Linked DNA regions of Homo sapiens: region 2 is linked to region 1. Evidence: promoter capture Hi-C in 16 types of primary human blood cells and fetal thymus (Javierre and others, 2016). All regions are on one chromosome and are shown on one strand. The core of a region is centred on a gene start or on the middle of the fragment in contact, and the rest is flanking DNA. Distances in the headings are between cores, read along the strand shown.

Region 1 (7,466 bases), core at 2,778-5,277:
TAAGAGTTACAAGGATAGCATTTGCCTATATATATATACGTGATGTATGTCTACAAGCGGCTGAGCTTTAAACTTCATCTGTAAATTGAACATTTTCTGTAGCTTCCATATGAATTTTAGATTATTAAGTACTCATGAATTGAATACAACTGTTAATTCTTCTAGTTTATAATTAGCAAATTATAATTAATGCTCTAAAATAATCCGTCTCAAATCCTCACATAGAAAGTAAAATTCAAATAATTTACTCACAGTTTCTTCCATAGACTTCTCAACAGGGTAATAACATTATTCTTGGTTATTTATTTTCCAGGCCATGTAAATGTTAATATTCTTATTTGTAAAAAGTAAAATCATATCTTAAGAGATGCATGCGCACATTCTAGTACTCTCTATTCTGCCTGAAACAGCTCTGTGATAAGGGAGTATTAAGAATAACAAATTCACACGAGCACAAGATAGAGTGGGAATTAGGTTCTTAGATGACTGGATATCTCTGTGGGAACAACTGGTTTAGAAAGAAGTAGGTGTTTTATCCAGGGAAAACAAAGAAGTTATAATCAAGAGAGAAGCAGTTTCAAAGGTGAAGGTGAAGAGTTGCCAGTCTCAGCGAAGGCTTTGTAACTAGAGAATGAATCTTTAGGGTAGAGTTAACGGTAGATTTTAAACTGTTTTAATAATTAAAATTATTATTGCACTTTGAAGGGGGTGTCTGAACTCAGTTGTAAAATGTTTGACATTTGTGAATTCCTTTAATGTTATATTTGAAACTGTTTTGGTGCATGCACAAGGTGCCCAACTATGACTCTACATTTTATTGTTAAACCTCATGTGACCCGTCTTTCTGGAGAAGTATGTGTGCGAAGTACAGGTTCAGCCTGCTACACAGGCAACATGTATTTGTTTTTGAGAAATCTCAAACTGTGTTTATGAGAGAATTAACCCTCTCAGGGAAACAGCTCTACCAACGACTGCCCCATGGGAGAGGATGTGTGGGGACACCTGCATCCTGCTATTTGGAGAAAAATTGAGCTGCTGGTGAGACATTGAACCAACAGCCTTGGACTGAGAAGTGAAAAATAGAGAACACCTGCCTCCCCTCTACTCTGATGCCAATCCAAGCAATTCCGAAGGCATCTTGGAAGCCCTAGAAAAGAAAACCTCAGTGACTCGATTTAGAACCTTGGAAACTAGAGTGGTAACTTTGTGCTTGGCACATAATAGGTACTTGATAGAAATTTATTGAAAGAAAGAAAGAGAAGAAGGAAAGAAAGAAAAAGAAAGAAAGAACAGAGAAGAAGGAAAGAAAGAAAAAGAAAGAAAGAAAGAAAAGTAAAAAAAGTAACAAACTTTGTAGCATTCTGAAGCACTAAGTGGCATACCCAAAAGGTTGGGCTATTTCATCGCTAGAGGTCATTAATAACACAACCACTTTTCTTTTCTTCTCTTTTTTTTTTTTGAGACAGGGTCTCACTATGTCATCCAGGCTGCAGTCTGGAACTCCTGGGCTCAAGTGATCCTCCCGCCTCAGCCTCCCAAGTAGCTAGGACTACAGGCATGCACCACCACTCCTGGCTAAATTTTTTTTTATTTTTTGTAGAGATGGGAGTTTCACTGTGTTGCCCAGGCTGGTCTTGAACCCCTGGTGTCAAGCAATCCTTCCACTTCAACCTCCCAAAGTGCTGGGATTACAGGCGTGAGCCACCGCGCCCAGCGCAATGATTTTACTTTTTACAAATAAGAGTATGAACATTTACATGGCCTGGAAAATAAACAAAAAGCAAGTAACTGCTAATCTAAGCAGATGCTGATATCTTCCTCAGCACGTAGGTTGTACACTGTTGGCTTGACCCTGCAATCCTTTCTGAAAATTTAAAGGGTAGTAGATGTGAAAAGCTTTGCTAAGAATTTCCCAGGAACAAAGTAAATATAATCTCACAGAATGTGAAAATGTTGATAGTATTTGTGCTACTTACTGATACATTTTCAAATGTGCTGACGTTAATCATTCTCAAATAGTTTTTTTTTTCTTCTTCTTTTTTTTTTTTTGGGACGGAGTCTTAATCTGTCATCCAGGCTGGCGTGCAATGGCATGATCTCAGCTCACTGCAACCTCCACCTCCCAGGTTCAAGCAGTTCTCGTGTCTTGGCCTCCTGAGTAGCTGGGATTACAGACACGCGCCACCATGCCTGGCTAATTTTTGTACTTTTAGTAGAGACGGGGTTTCACCATGTTGCCCAGGCTGGTCTTGAACTACTGTCCTCAGGTGATCCACCCACCTCGGCCTCCCAAAGTGCTGGGATTACAGGTGTAAGCCACCACACCTGGCCTCAAGTAGGTTTTAACAGTGCTTTTTGCTCTTAAAATCCTAAGTGAGGTCCAAATGCCACGTTTCAGTAACACCTCTGAGAGGAGAGAACACAGTTGATTGAAAGGGAAGGGGAGTGCCATGCGGTGGTGAAGCGTGGACCCTGAAAGCAGATGCCAGTTGGACTTCCTGCTCTTCCAACTCCTGGCTGTGAAACCTGAAGCACACAATTTAATTTCTCCGGGCCTACTCCTCCCCCTCCTGCCAATGGTAAAATGAGAATAATACTATCTATCCCATGGGGTTATTGTAAAGATTATTATGTAAAGTGCATTGAACAGTGCCTGGTACAGAGTAAGAATTCTAATGTTTCCTAAATAGTCAAAATTTAAGTCAAAATGGGGGAAATGTGTATAAATTCCTAAAACTAAGCATTTTGCAAATATACTGTTTCTTAAGAGATAAACTCCAGAGAAATTGGCCTTCGTGTAGTCCTTTAAATAAAAATAATTAATTCAGAAAACAGGCCCAGTGTGGTGGTTCACACCTATAATCCCAGCACTTTGAGAGGCCAAGGCAGGAGGATCGCTTGAGCTCAGGAGTTCAACACTAGCCTGGGCAACACAGCGAGACCTTGTCTCAAAAAAAGAAAAAGAAAAAAAATTAATTCAGAAAACAAATTTGATGGTGAGTAACTAACCTATGGTTCCCAGGGTACCATTCGATTCATGCAATTCATTAGGCATGAAACATCCTAGTGCTGAACTACTGCTTACACCCTTTCTACAAAATTGTACTAAATCTGAGTATGAGATATTTATCTGGAATTTGGTGTGAATATTCCGAAAGTTTCTTCCTTCTTTCTTTCTTTTTTTTTTTTGACAGAATCTTGCTCTGTCGACTAGGATGGAGTGCAGAGGCACAGTCATAGCTCACTGCAGCCTCGAATTCCTGGGCTGAAGTCATCCTTCTACCCCAGCGTCCCCAGCCTCCTGAGTAGCTAGGACTACAGGTGCACCACTGCGCCTGGCTAATTTTTTTATTTTTTGTAGAGACAAGGTCTCGCTATGTTAACCAGGCTGGTTTCTTCATTCTTAATGGAGATTCAAAGTATTTGTGAAAACTGGGGCACTCGGTTGCTAGTTACAACTGGAATAAATTTTGTCTTTCAGCCCCAAAGCCTTAATGCTTTGCGCCAAGCAATCCAGCTACAAATTTAATTTAGTTCAAATACTTATTGATTGGCTGCCATGCTCATGTAATACATATTATATTCAAGGGTCGGAAATGAAAGGATGCAAGCCACTTGTGCTGGTATTATTTAAAGTCTTCATCTTTTGAGAAAGGCTGACGGCAAAGGAACAGATCTATGCTGTCATGTGTCGGCATCGCGCGGAGCAGAGGTGGCCTGGATGGGTAACTTCCAGCACAGGCCCTCAAAGAAGGACGGGCACATTTCCGGTAACAGCCTCATTTCCCCCCGTTCCCCGGGGGAAGGGGGGCGGCTAGCACTGCTGATGGCATCGCCTGACATCACTTGTTCCGGAGGATAGGAGAGCGTGGGCCTGCGTGGCCCACCTCATCCGTGGCCTGACTGCGTTAACCTCTCGGTTCCCTGCTCTTGCCACGTGAGGTGCCCAAATATGGTCGGACTCAGGAGGAGCCAGGGAGCGCTTGCCTTTCTCCTGCTAATGGGGAGGAGGCTGGAACAAATGTTTGGAGTTAAACACAATCTGCAGGAAAGCAAATGGGGACTCGGACTCGCTCCTGGGCGAGCTGAAAGTCGGCTGCAGCAGAAGCTCCTGCCTTGGGTGATCCATCATTTAATAAACCCCAGAGAATCCAGTGTCCCCGGCAGGCTTTTTGCTCCCCTGCTCTCTTGCCTTCTGAGGCCCTGGGTCGTCCCCGCAGCTCTAGTCGCCCTGTTAGAAACGGGAGGCGCCCGAGGGCCGGGTGGGCGGCTGCCTGGACCTGGGCTGGCGCGTCGCAGCGCCTCTGGTCCCGGCAGCCTGGGGGCAGATGCTGCTGCAGGGCGTGTCTGGGGCTGTGCTCATGTGATGAAGCGAGGGAAAAACCGGGGGGAGGGGGGCGGAGGCTAAGAGGTGGCCTTTTTTTTTTTTTCCTTTTCTTTTAAGGAGTTTGCCGCGAGCGCGTCTCCTTCATTCGCAGGCTGGGCGCGTTCGCAGTCGGCTGGCGGCGAAGGAAGGCGCTCTCGGGACCTCGCGGGCGCGCGTCTTTTGGCTCTTGCCCCTGTCCCTGCGGCTTGGGGAAGGCGTAACCCGGCGGCTAGGCGCGGGAGAAGTGCGGAGGAGCCATGGGCGCCGGGAGCTCCACCGAGCAGCGCAGCCCGGAGCAGCCGCCCGAGGGGAGCTCCACGCCGGCTGAGCCCGAGCCCAGCGGCGGCGGCCCCTCGGCCGAGGCGGCGCCAGACACCACCGCGGACCCCGCCATCGCTGCCTCGGACCCCGCCACCAAGGTACGGGCGTGCCGGGCCACCTGCGCCGGGAGGCGCGGGTCTTTGGGGGTGGGGGTGGGGGTGGGGGGGTCCCTCCGATTTCCGCCGAGAGAACTTCCCAGCCCATCCAGCCGCATCTGCAAACTCAGGAGTGCGAACCCCTCTTTGGAGGCTTTTCAGGGTCTTTCGCGCCGGGGCGGGGCCAGAGCAGCGGCGAGCGCGGCGGGGGGCTTGCATCTTTGTCGCGGGTCTCCAGGGGAGGCGACTGCGCCATGCGCAATAATAAAACCCGCGCCCTGCCCACGGCGGCTGAGCCTTTCTGCGCACTCTTCCGGTGGGAGCCATGCAGCCCGAGGCGGAGGAGCTGCGCGGAGGGGGATCCGTGGAGAATGGACCCCGGGCCGGGCCTCCGGAGCTCCGAGATGCGGAAAGTCAGCTGTGAGGCCAGGACTCGTGGTGGAGCCCGCCGGGGAGCCCAGCCACCCTCGGGTTCCCCGTCGCGTACCGCCCTGGATGCCAGCGGTGCCTGGAGCGAGCGGGTTTGGTACCCAGTCCTCCTGCGGCAGCGGCCCGAGCAGGCACCGCCTTCCCGAGGCAGAGAAAGCCTGGGGTGTAGCTCGCTCAGAGCCAGGAAAAACCTGGGCAGGCGCTGCGTTTCCAGAAGGAATGACAGGTTTCGCAAACCAGCCAGCGCCCTCGCGTTCGCTCAGCGCTTTGCCTGCAGACTCAGTTGGCCAAACACACGCTAGAGTGGCTAGAAGTTCTCAAAGGATGGGGTCAGTGTAACGAGCATTCCGGGTACTCTTCCCTGGACGCAGTGCTGAAACGACTGCATTTTATCGGCTTCAGTCTTCAAGGCTGGAATATTTCTTGTGGGCCAGGACAGCCGCCAAGACTGTGGCTTGTTCTGGTCGTGGTATTTTAGATCTATTTTCCAGCGCATGTGTTCATTAGCAAGGCTTCACTCTACTGATTTTGTGATACCCTTGTATCACAAAGGTACCCTTGTGATACCTTGTAGAAAGATGTGGATAACCATGTTTAATAGTTAAATTTGCGGTATGTCAAATTTGAGGATAGAGTACGTGAGTTATCGCAGGAGGTGTAGATGTTTACAATATGCAAAAAAAAAAAAAAAAAGGAACCTACAACCATGACCTAATTGCCTTGACCTCCTTAGCTGCCCTAGTCTCTTTTGGGCTGAGAGACTGCTGTTAATAATATAGTTTTTACCGCCAGTCTTTGATTCATAACTACTTGTAAAATCCATGGTCCCTAGATATTAAGTACTAACTGTGTCTCTGTGCTATGTAGGTTTTTCTAAGAGATGCTTAAGCTTCTGGCCTGAGGAATGTACTGTCCTTTTGAGATTCAAGTCGCATTTTAATACTTACTGTATGCACATAATGTTTTGATGCCAGCTACTGTCAAAGTGGCTCTGTAACCAGTGGTCAGAGTCTAGCGATGAAAATAATTTTAAGGTATAATTGCTAAAAACTTGCAGTTGGGTGACATTCCCCCCACCGCCCCGGCTTTTATACTCCTTCAGATCTTACTAACTGTTCACCCTGAAATATGGGATTTAATCCCTTCCCAGTAAACTTGAATTTGTTTATTTAAAAATATTCCTTCCATTCTCTTTTTCCGTCTTCCATAACCTTATCCTTTTCCTCTTTCCAAGTTGCCAACCGTCTTGAAGCAACCAAACAACCTCCTTTTAAAAAATCACTTAAATGACATCCAGAATATCATTGAACTTGTTGGCATAATGCCCAGTTATCAATTTGGAGACAAATCAGTGCACTTACATGTATCCTTGGAATGTATTTAGTTTTCATTTGAACTAGCCAAATTTATCACTCAGGCTTTGAACACAAATGTCTTTTCAAAAGGACTCCCCAATTAAGAATGACTCAGCACCATGGCCCTTGCCTCCCCTCTTCTTGTTAAGCTCCAATTCCTGACCTCCAAGTAATCCCATCTCCCACTCTAGGCTCCGTGGCACCATGGACCCGTCCCAGCAGTTTTCACATGTGTGGGTTTAGTGTTCTTGCTGTTGTGAATACTTCGCAGGGGCAGGGAACACGCCTGGTTGTGCCGACCAACGGTGTTCCTTCATGCGTGCCATGTTGCCTGGCACAGAGGCAGCTCTCAGGAATACTTGTGGAAAGAGGAAGGGGTGATATTGGCTCCTTGGTTTTGATTGGAAAATATCAAGTTGGAGAATACCTTGACCTATCTGATTTTACTACAATTTAACCCTTGATCATTTCATTATCACGTGAGACTGATTATGATAGTGACTAAGGCAAGTCAGTCTGTTCGGTTATTAATAGATCAAGTGAATAGTTTGACCAAAAACTTCAGATTTGGGGGCTTTGGATTCTGTTTCTCTAGATATAGAGTGACTTGTTAGCATTGCAATTTCAAATTGCGTTTTATCTTAAATAGACAAATATATGAAGTGCATATGGCTCAAATGAGTCCATTTCATACCCTGAGTTACTTAGGATTACATCTTGAACTTCCTTGATGTGTCTGTGGACGGTTGGGGAGGTTTAGGCTAATACATCATTTTTCCCTCCTTGGATAGAATGTGGTCATTAATTAAAGGTTGTAGGCAGATCTTTTTCTATCTAATAGCTGACATTTATATCACATGCATGCTATCTATTTAGCAATTGGATTTACTTTCCTTTTTT
Region 2 (7,466 bases), core at 2,475-4,974, 86 kb after region 1:
CATTCCTTGTTATTGTGGTCTTCCTTGCCCCCCGCCACCTGCCCCTGTTTTTTAAACCAGGCACATCAGCTTTATGTTTTTTTTTTTTTTTTTTTTTTTTTGACACAGTCTCACTTTGTCGCCCAGGCTGGAGTGCAGTGGTGCGATACCATCTTACTGCAACCTCCACCCCTCTGGGTTCAAGCAATTCTTGTGCTTCAGCCTCCTGAGTAGCTGGGATTACAGGCGCCCGCCACCACGCCCGGCTAATTTTTGTATTTTTAGTAGAGACGGGGTTTCATCATGTTGGCCAGGCTGGTCTCGAACTCCTGATCTCGTGATCTGCCCACCTCAGCCTCCCAAAGTGCTGGGATCACAGGTGTGAGCCACCGCGCCCAACCTGTTGTCTTTTTTCTTTTTTATTATAGTCATCCTAGTGGGTGTGAGGTGGTTTTGATTTGCATTTTTCTAAGGGCTAATAACGTTGGACGTATTTTCATGTGCTCATTGGTCATTTGTATATTTTCTTTAGAGAAATGGCTACTCAGATTCTTTGCTCACTTTTAATGGATAATTTGTTACAAAGTCTTTAACATGTCATTCAAGACCCTTTATAAATATTTTTAGTTTCATCTCCAGTGTTGTCTTCCCCGCCAAGCCCCCAACTCCCGGACCTCCCTAAGTAAACTCCGAACCTCATAGCTGTGAGGAACCCACTCATGATTGCCCAAATGTCCTGCTCTTGGCATCTCTGCCTCTGCCCATGCTCGTCTGTCCCTATGGACCGCCTTCCTTTGTGCCCCAGGTAGGGAGTGTCCCCTCATCCCTTCAGAGACCAGCTCCAAGGCTACCTCAGAGGTGAGCCAAACTAGAGCTGCCCACTCCCGCCACTGGGCGTGTCCACCACCCACTCCCGCCACTGGGCGTGTCCACCACCCACTCCTGCCACTGGGTGTGTGCACCATCCATGACTGAGCTCCCGAGGCCAGGGATAGTATCTCATTTAGATCCCTGGGTGTTTTGCGTAATAAATATGGAGCAACAACTTGGTAAATATTTGTTGAGTGAACCATTCTGATTTGGGAAAACACGTTTTCTATCATCCATCTATGTATTATACAGCAAAATGTTTCCTATAATTCTTGCTTTGGGTGGTGATGTCTTCCTCTAAAAATCCTAATTTAACAAAAACAGAGAATGGAAATGATAAAAGAAAGTCTCCTGCATTGGACAGTGACCTTAGGTCTCATCTTTACTCCTGCTTTTATCCTAATTGATGACTTTTCTTTGTAAATGCAGACACACAGAGGCTCGCTGGGCAGCTGGGCCGTGCACCCTGTCCTTGATCATTCTTAGAGGTAGAGATCAAAGGAGACCCATTGGCTGAGAGAGTCTACAACTTGCCACATGATCTATTGCTCTGCCTTGTGATTTTAATTGCCTCTTTAAGAATATCAAATCAGGCCGGACGCAGTGGCTCATGCCTGTAGTCCCAGCGCTTTGGGAGGCCGAGGCGGGTGGATCACCTGAGGTCAGGAGTTCAAGACCAGCCTGGCCAACACGGTGAAACCCCGTCTCCACTAAAAATACAAAAATTAGCCGAGCATGGTGGCATGCGCCTGTAATCCCAGCTACTTTTGGGAGGCTGAGGCAGGAGAATCACTTGAACCCGGGGGTCAGAGGTTGCAATGAGCCGAGATCGCGTCATTGCACCCCAGCCTGGGTGACAAGAGCGAGACTCCATCTCAAAAAAAAAAAAAATCAAATCAGATGTGTTAGCGTCTTCATGAATGTCATAAAAAGAAATGTTTCAGTGCCAAAACTGAACAGCAGTACAGTGACCTTTGAAAATGTTGTTTAGGGTATTAAATGTGTAACTAGTGACATTTTGTGTGTTTTTCTTTTTCTTCCTATCCAGCTCAGTGGAATAGCTGTTGCTTGTCCCAGTGTTAGAATTTGGACTGATAGAAAGGAGAGGAGCTGGAGATTCATTCTGCTCTGCAAGGGCAGACTCGATTTCAGAAGTGGCACCAGATGATAGCCTTGTGTTGTCCCCAACCACTGGTGCTGAGAAATGATGCAGAACCAAGCCCTCAGATCCCAGATCACCCACGGCTCCTGGGACATCTCTGGGGAAGGGACTTATTAATGTAGACCCTGATGCAACATCCCAAGTCGTCTTTATCCATGATTTGCACAGCCAGGACACTCTGGGGCTGGGATTGGGAGGAGAGGAATGGCCAAGTTGCCCTGCCCCCTTGGCTCTGTGGACTCCAGAAGGATGGTCAGTACCAGCAGCATTTCACACACACCAGCCTCATTATTAAAATTGGAGCAATTTGTGAAATAGAGTTGAGACTTCTCTAGAGAAAAAAGGTTGGGAAGCAGCTCAGTGGCTGGGTCTGGGAGTCAGCTTCCAGGCAATATCTCACTGAGTCAGGACAAGGCCCATCATTCCCTGTTCCCGCCAGGCCGGGTATTTGCCAGGATGTGAAACGGAAGCCAGGCTTTTGGAGAGGCTGAAGCTGATTTTTGTAACAAGGTCTGGTTACCAGCAAGGAAGCGGTTTTCACGTTGCTCACTCTGGGCCCGAGTGTGGTGCATCGCGCCCCCTGGTGCCCAAAAAGTGCAACTACGTGCCATGCCAGCCAGCTCTCCTGGACTTCCATTTTTCCCTGATTCTCCTGTTCCTCGCCCACCCTTCTCTTTGCTGTGCCCACTGTGGTCTACGCCGAGGCTCCCCTCCCTCCTCCCTGCCCCAAGCAATAATGAACAAGATCTTCATTCTCTGAAGAGAAGTGCAATAGTAAAACTTTCCTTTTTGTTTGTGTAGGGGAAGAGCTGGTGTTAATGGGTCAGGCAGGCAAGGCATGAAGTGATAAATAGGGAAAGGATGAAAGAAGGGAACAAACCCAGGGGACCTAACGGACCCACCCTAACAAAAAATTGGAGTACAAAAAAAGTGTATTAAAATTGTGAGACCACACCAACTCATTCGTCACTCGTGTCTTTACAAAGAACAAACCTGAAGCTTCAATGAGAAAGAATTGAAGTATTCTAGGGCTGCCTGAAATCTTCTGAACTTTTAACATAGGCTTTGATTTCCGAGTTGTGTGCTTGCATGTTAGAGATATGATAGTGTCTAAAAATTGGAACATGGCATAGTTTGATCTAAAAAGTTAGCTAACTTCTGCCATTTAGAAAAAGACCCCATGCTCAAGTCTGCTTTTGAAAAGTTGCCTTGGTCAAGTGTTGAAGACAGCACTTGTTAGAAGGAACAAGTTCACTTCTGAGAGCCCTTCTCAAAGAGTTTAGGAAACAGCACTACTGAGAGTTGCCAGTCTTCAGAGCAGTGCAACGTGTGTGTATGCGTAAGACACAGATGGTGAAAATATCAAATGCTACAGATGCCAAGAAGGGAGGTGTTGGCACCACACCAACCTTTAAACAAACATAAGGATGCAGAATGCAGTCTTTAAAATGGAGGGAGAATTTACTGTCTGTGTGGCTATTTCCTTGAAATGACTTAAAAAGCTGAGATACAGAAGTATTAGTAAATCGGTGCCAGGAATGAAGTAACCGTTTAGATCCAATGCGCCGGCTCCAGCATCGAACTCATGCCCAGCACCCTTTAAACCCTCCCGGGACTCTGCAGAACCCGCTGACCACTCACAGAGCCCAGCTCGGGGGAGGGCTTTAAGGTGAAGCACGTGACCCCCTGCTTGTGCGGCCCGGGCGGGGAAGTTTGCGCTCCCGAAGTCCTGGAGCTCAGCAAGGGAGGGGCCAGCGCCAGCCCGCGTGTGGGTGGCTGGGTGGGGGCGTGGGTGGGGGTCCGCCTATAATTATCTGGGGAAATGCATCCGCGCTCTGCTTTTCGCTGCGGCAGCTCCGAGGGCACCTCCGGTTCTCCCCCATCCTCCGGGAGTGTCTGGGCGCTCAGTCCGCTCTGATCCCGCCGAAACCACCTGCGGTTGGCAGGCAGGAGACTAGGCGTCTGCCGGGGAGGGCAGGGACCCGCTAAGCTGATCTCCTGTACAGTAGTGCTACTTAAAATATGCTGGGGACCATCACCATCACAGGTAAGGCACAAGCCAGGTCGCTTTTGTCCTCCCTGGACGGCAGGCACGGGGCACGAAAAGGGGCTTTCTTCCGTTGAATGAGCGTTTGGTGGGGAGCCCGGGAGGTCAGTGGCGGGACCGTTATTGGCATTTATTTCTCTCCGTGTACTGAGTTTTTCTTCAGAAGAACATTCTCCCTTGGGCTCAGCAAGAATCAGACAACCTCAGTGTTTCATTTTTGGCTGAGCTGGAATCTTCTTGACTGTGCCTATGGGAGACCTTTAGTATATTTTGTTCGGGGTTGTACCCTTCCCCTTAGGGAGAGAGGGATGTGGAGAGGAACAACAGCAGCCGACTGAATAGAAATATGTCAGATTTGTGTGAATTTGAAAATAAGCTGTGAAAGCTTAATCTCTTGCCGTAGTCATAGACAGAATACATTCCTCTTCTGGGCAAATTACAAGTGTTTGCATTTTGACTTGTTTACTAGGAACTTTGAATAAAGGTACACTTGGTGGTTTAGGGGACTAACATTTAAGCTCTGCTTTAAGTGGTGGTTTTAATAAAGCCATAGTTATTATAAAATCGGTGGCTAGGAAGCAACACTATTTAGGCAACAAATAGTAAAAAAAAAAAAAAAAAGAAAAAAAGAAAAAAGTATGTTTCTTTAGCTTACTTTCTAGGAATCTGGCCGTGAGTATGAATTATAATATTTACTGCCTACTTCTAGCAAATAACTTACACGCATCAAACTTTTAGAATGCTCTTACAGCTCCTCTAACTTGACATTTGATAGTCTTATGCCATTGTACTGTGGCCTAACCTGCGTATTTTCTCTTCCTGTCATCAAGAAAATTAAATTCCGTTTGTGAATTTAACTTTATAGGAACAGGACTTCTTTATTCTTTAAATATTTGAGATCATTGCTGCCAAATCTTTTTTTTTGTTTGTTTGTTTTTTGTTTGTTTTTTGAGATGGAGTCTTGCTCTTTCGCCAGACTGAAGTGCAATGGTGTGATCTTGGCTTACTGCAACCTCCACCTCCTGGGTTCAAGCGATTCTCCTGCCTCAGCCTCCCGAGTAGCTGGGGTTACAGGCACGTGCCACCACGCCCAGATAATTTTTGTATTTTTAGTAGAGCCGGGGTTTCACCAAGTTGGCCAGGATGGTCTCGATCTCTTGACCTTGTGATCTGCCCGCCTTGGTCTCCCAAAGTGCTAGGATTATAGACGTGAGCCACCGCACCTGGCCTACATTTTTTTTTTTTTTTTAATCAACTGTAGAATTTCTAGGACTTAAAATTTTCTCAATGCAACTGCTCCTGCAAAGCCATGCGCTCCAGTGGAATTTACAAGAATGTGAAAGTTCAGCAATACTAAAATTATCTCTCACTTCCTATAGATTAGCTTGTTTACTTTGAGATTTCCTTAAAATTCGACCCCCAAGTTGACTTGGCTAACCTTTCTACCATTTACTCAGCTTGAAAGTTTATGCCATATCTCGAAACTATTAATAAATAGACTGTACAAAATGAAAAAAATTTAAAACACAAAAATCTCCATTTTTTCCCCCAGATCATTAACTTTTCTATGAATGAAATATGCAAATGTGTATTGTAGGGAGTCACAGCTGGGGTGGTGCTTCTGAGATCATGACTTTTTTCTGAGTACTTTTTGGGTACAATATGATTTTTATTATATTCACTATTCAATTAGTCGCATACTGAGATTCCTATGGTAAAAGGAGGTGGTCTAAAGTTTTAGCAGTAATTAAAGGTTAATAAACTGGGAGCACTTGAGGGGGCTTGTAATAGTTGGCTCAGATAATCCCAATGGAGTGATAAATGAATGGAAATAGTGGGAAGGACTAACTTTTAAGGCAAAATCAGGTAATTGGCTCTATTGCTTTCTAAATTTACTTTTCTTACAATGTGGGTGTGGAGGATATGGCAAAATTTTGCACTTTTTCCTGGTAAGAAGAAAGTGCACAGAAAATCTTAACTCCAAAAATTTACCAGCAAGAAATCTTACGTAGTGGAAAAAGTAAAAATGAAAGGGAGTTTCAGCTGTCATTTGGTTTTTGCTCCGCAAGTTATTCTGATGGGGAAGATTCATAATCATCATCTTTAAATAGTTGCTCAGAATCTTGAAAAGCCATGAGAGCTTTAAAAATTGACAGTAACAACCGGGCGCGGTGGCTCACGCCTGTAATCCCAGGACTTTGGGAGGCCGAGGTGGGCGGATCACGAGGTCAGGAGATCGAGACCATCCTGGCTAACACGGTGAAACCCCGTCTCTAGTAAAAATACAAAAAAATTAGCCGGGTGTGGTGGCGGGTGCCTGTAGTCCCAGCTACTTGGGAGGCTGAGGCAGGAGAATGGCGTGAACTCGGGAGGCAGAGCTTGCAGTGAGCCGAGATCGCGCCTCTGCACTCCAGCCTGGGCGACAGAGCGAGACTCCATCTCAAAAAAAAAAAAAAAATTGACAGTAAGGTGGCCGGGCGCGGCGGCTCACGCCTGTGATTCCAGCACTTTGGGAGGCGGAGGCGGGCGGATCACGAGGTCAGGAGTACAAGACTAGCCTGACCAACATGGTGAAACCCCGTCTCTACTAAAAATACAAAAATTAGCTGGACGTGGTAGTGTGCACCTGTGATCCCAGCTACTCGGGAGGCTGAGGCAGGAGAATTGCTTGAACCTGGGAGGCAGAGGTTGCAGTGAGTCAAGATTGTGCCACTGCACTCCAGCCTGGGTGACAGAGCAAGACTCCGTCTCAAAAAAAAAAAAAAAAATTAAATTGACAGTAAGGTTTAATGAAATCTTAAAGGTCTTTGCATCTTTGGGATTATTCACTTAAATACTATAGAAGGTTATTGTAGTTATCTTTAGTACTATGTTATTTTAGGAGGCCTGTGTTTAAATTTTACAATTCATTAACAGGACTGATGGCATTTTGTAGGAACTACTTAGGAACAAGTTTGCATTTCTGAAAGTAAGGAAAAGCTGTCACTTAATACTATTATCCCCCTCCCCCCTGCCACACACACAACCCAGTTTACACAAACCACTAAAATGAATGCAGTGGAAATTGAATTATGAAATGATTGCTTATTCACATTACATACTGTTGCCATTCTTGGGGTCTCTTTCTCTCACATCTCATTTGCAATAAGTTAGCTTTGAGACAAGAAATAAGTGATGTGACACGATGATCATCCCCTTCCCCACTCAACTGTAAATGGCGTGCCAGCATAAAAATGCCTTTTTTTTTGAGATGAAGTCTCACTCTGTCACCCAGGCTGGAGTGCAGTGGCGCGATCTCAGCTCACTGCAACCTCCACCTCCCGGGTTCAAGCAGTTCTCCCTGCCTCAGCCTCCCAAGCAGCTGGGATTACAGGCACCTGCCACCACGCCCCGCTAATGTTTGTATTT

Evidence for each region. Contacts are between HindIII fragments. The CHiCAGO score rates a contact against its expected background, and 5 or more counts as called.
Region 2: a fragment that was not itself captured here is called in contact with the fragment with the promoter of AKAP12 in region 1 in 1 of 17 cell types (endothelial precursors); the score reaches 7.4 in endothelial precursors.

What each region holds. Positions count from the first base shown.
Region 1 is chr6:151,235,940-151,243,405 of GRCh38, forward strand. It overlaps AKAP12 (A-kinase anchoring protein 12), which reads left to right and starts at 4,028. Exons shown (of 5, transcript NM_005100.4): 1 at 4,028-4,120; 2 at 4,445-4,785. The coding sequence starts at 4,624. RefSeq lists enhancers at 3,831-4,340, 4,418-4,995. The HindIII fragment of the contact is 4,204 bases long and covers 1,895-6,098 here.
Region 2 is chr6:151,321,828-151,329,293 of GRCh38, forward strand. All of the region lies in intron 3 of AKAP12 (A-kinase anchoring protein 12), which reads left to right. Among named protein-coding and RNA genes, the nearest start is that of ZBTB2, 66 kb to the right of the region's middle. RefSeq lists a silencer at 2,492-2,692. The HindIII fragment of the contact is 1,433 bases long and covers 3,009-4,441 here.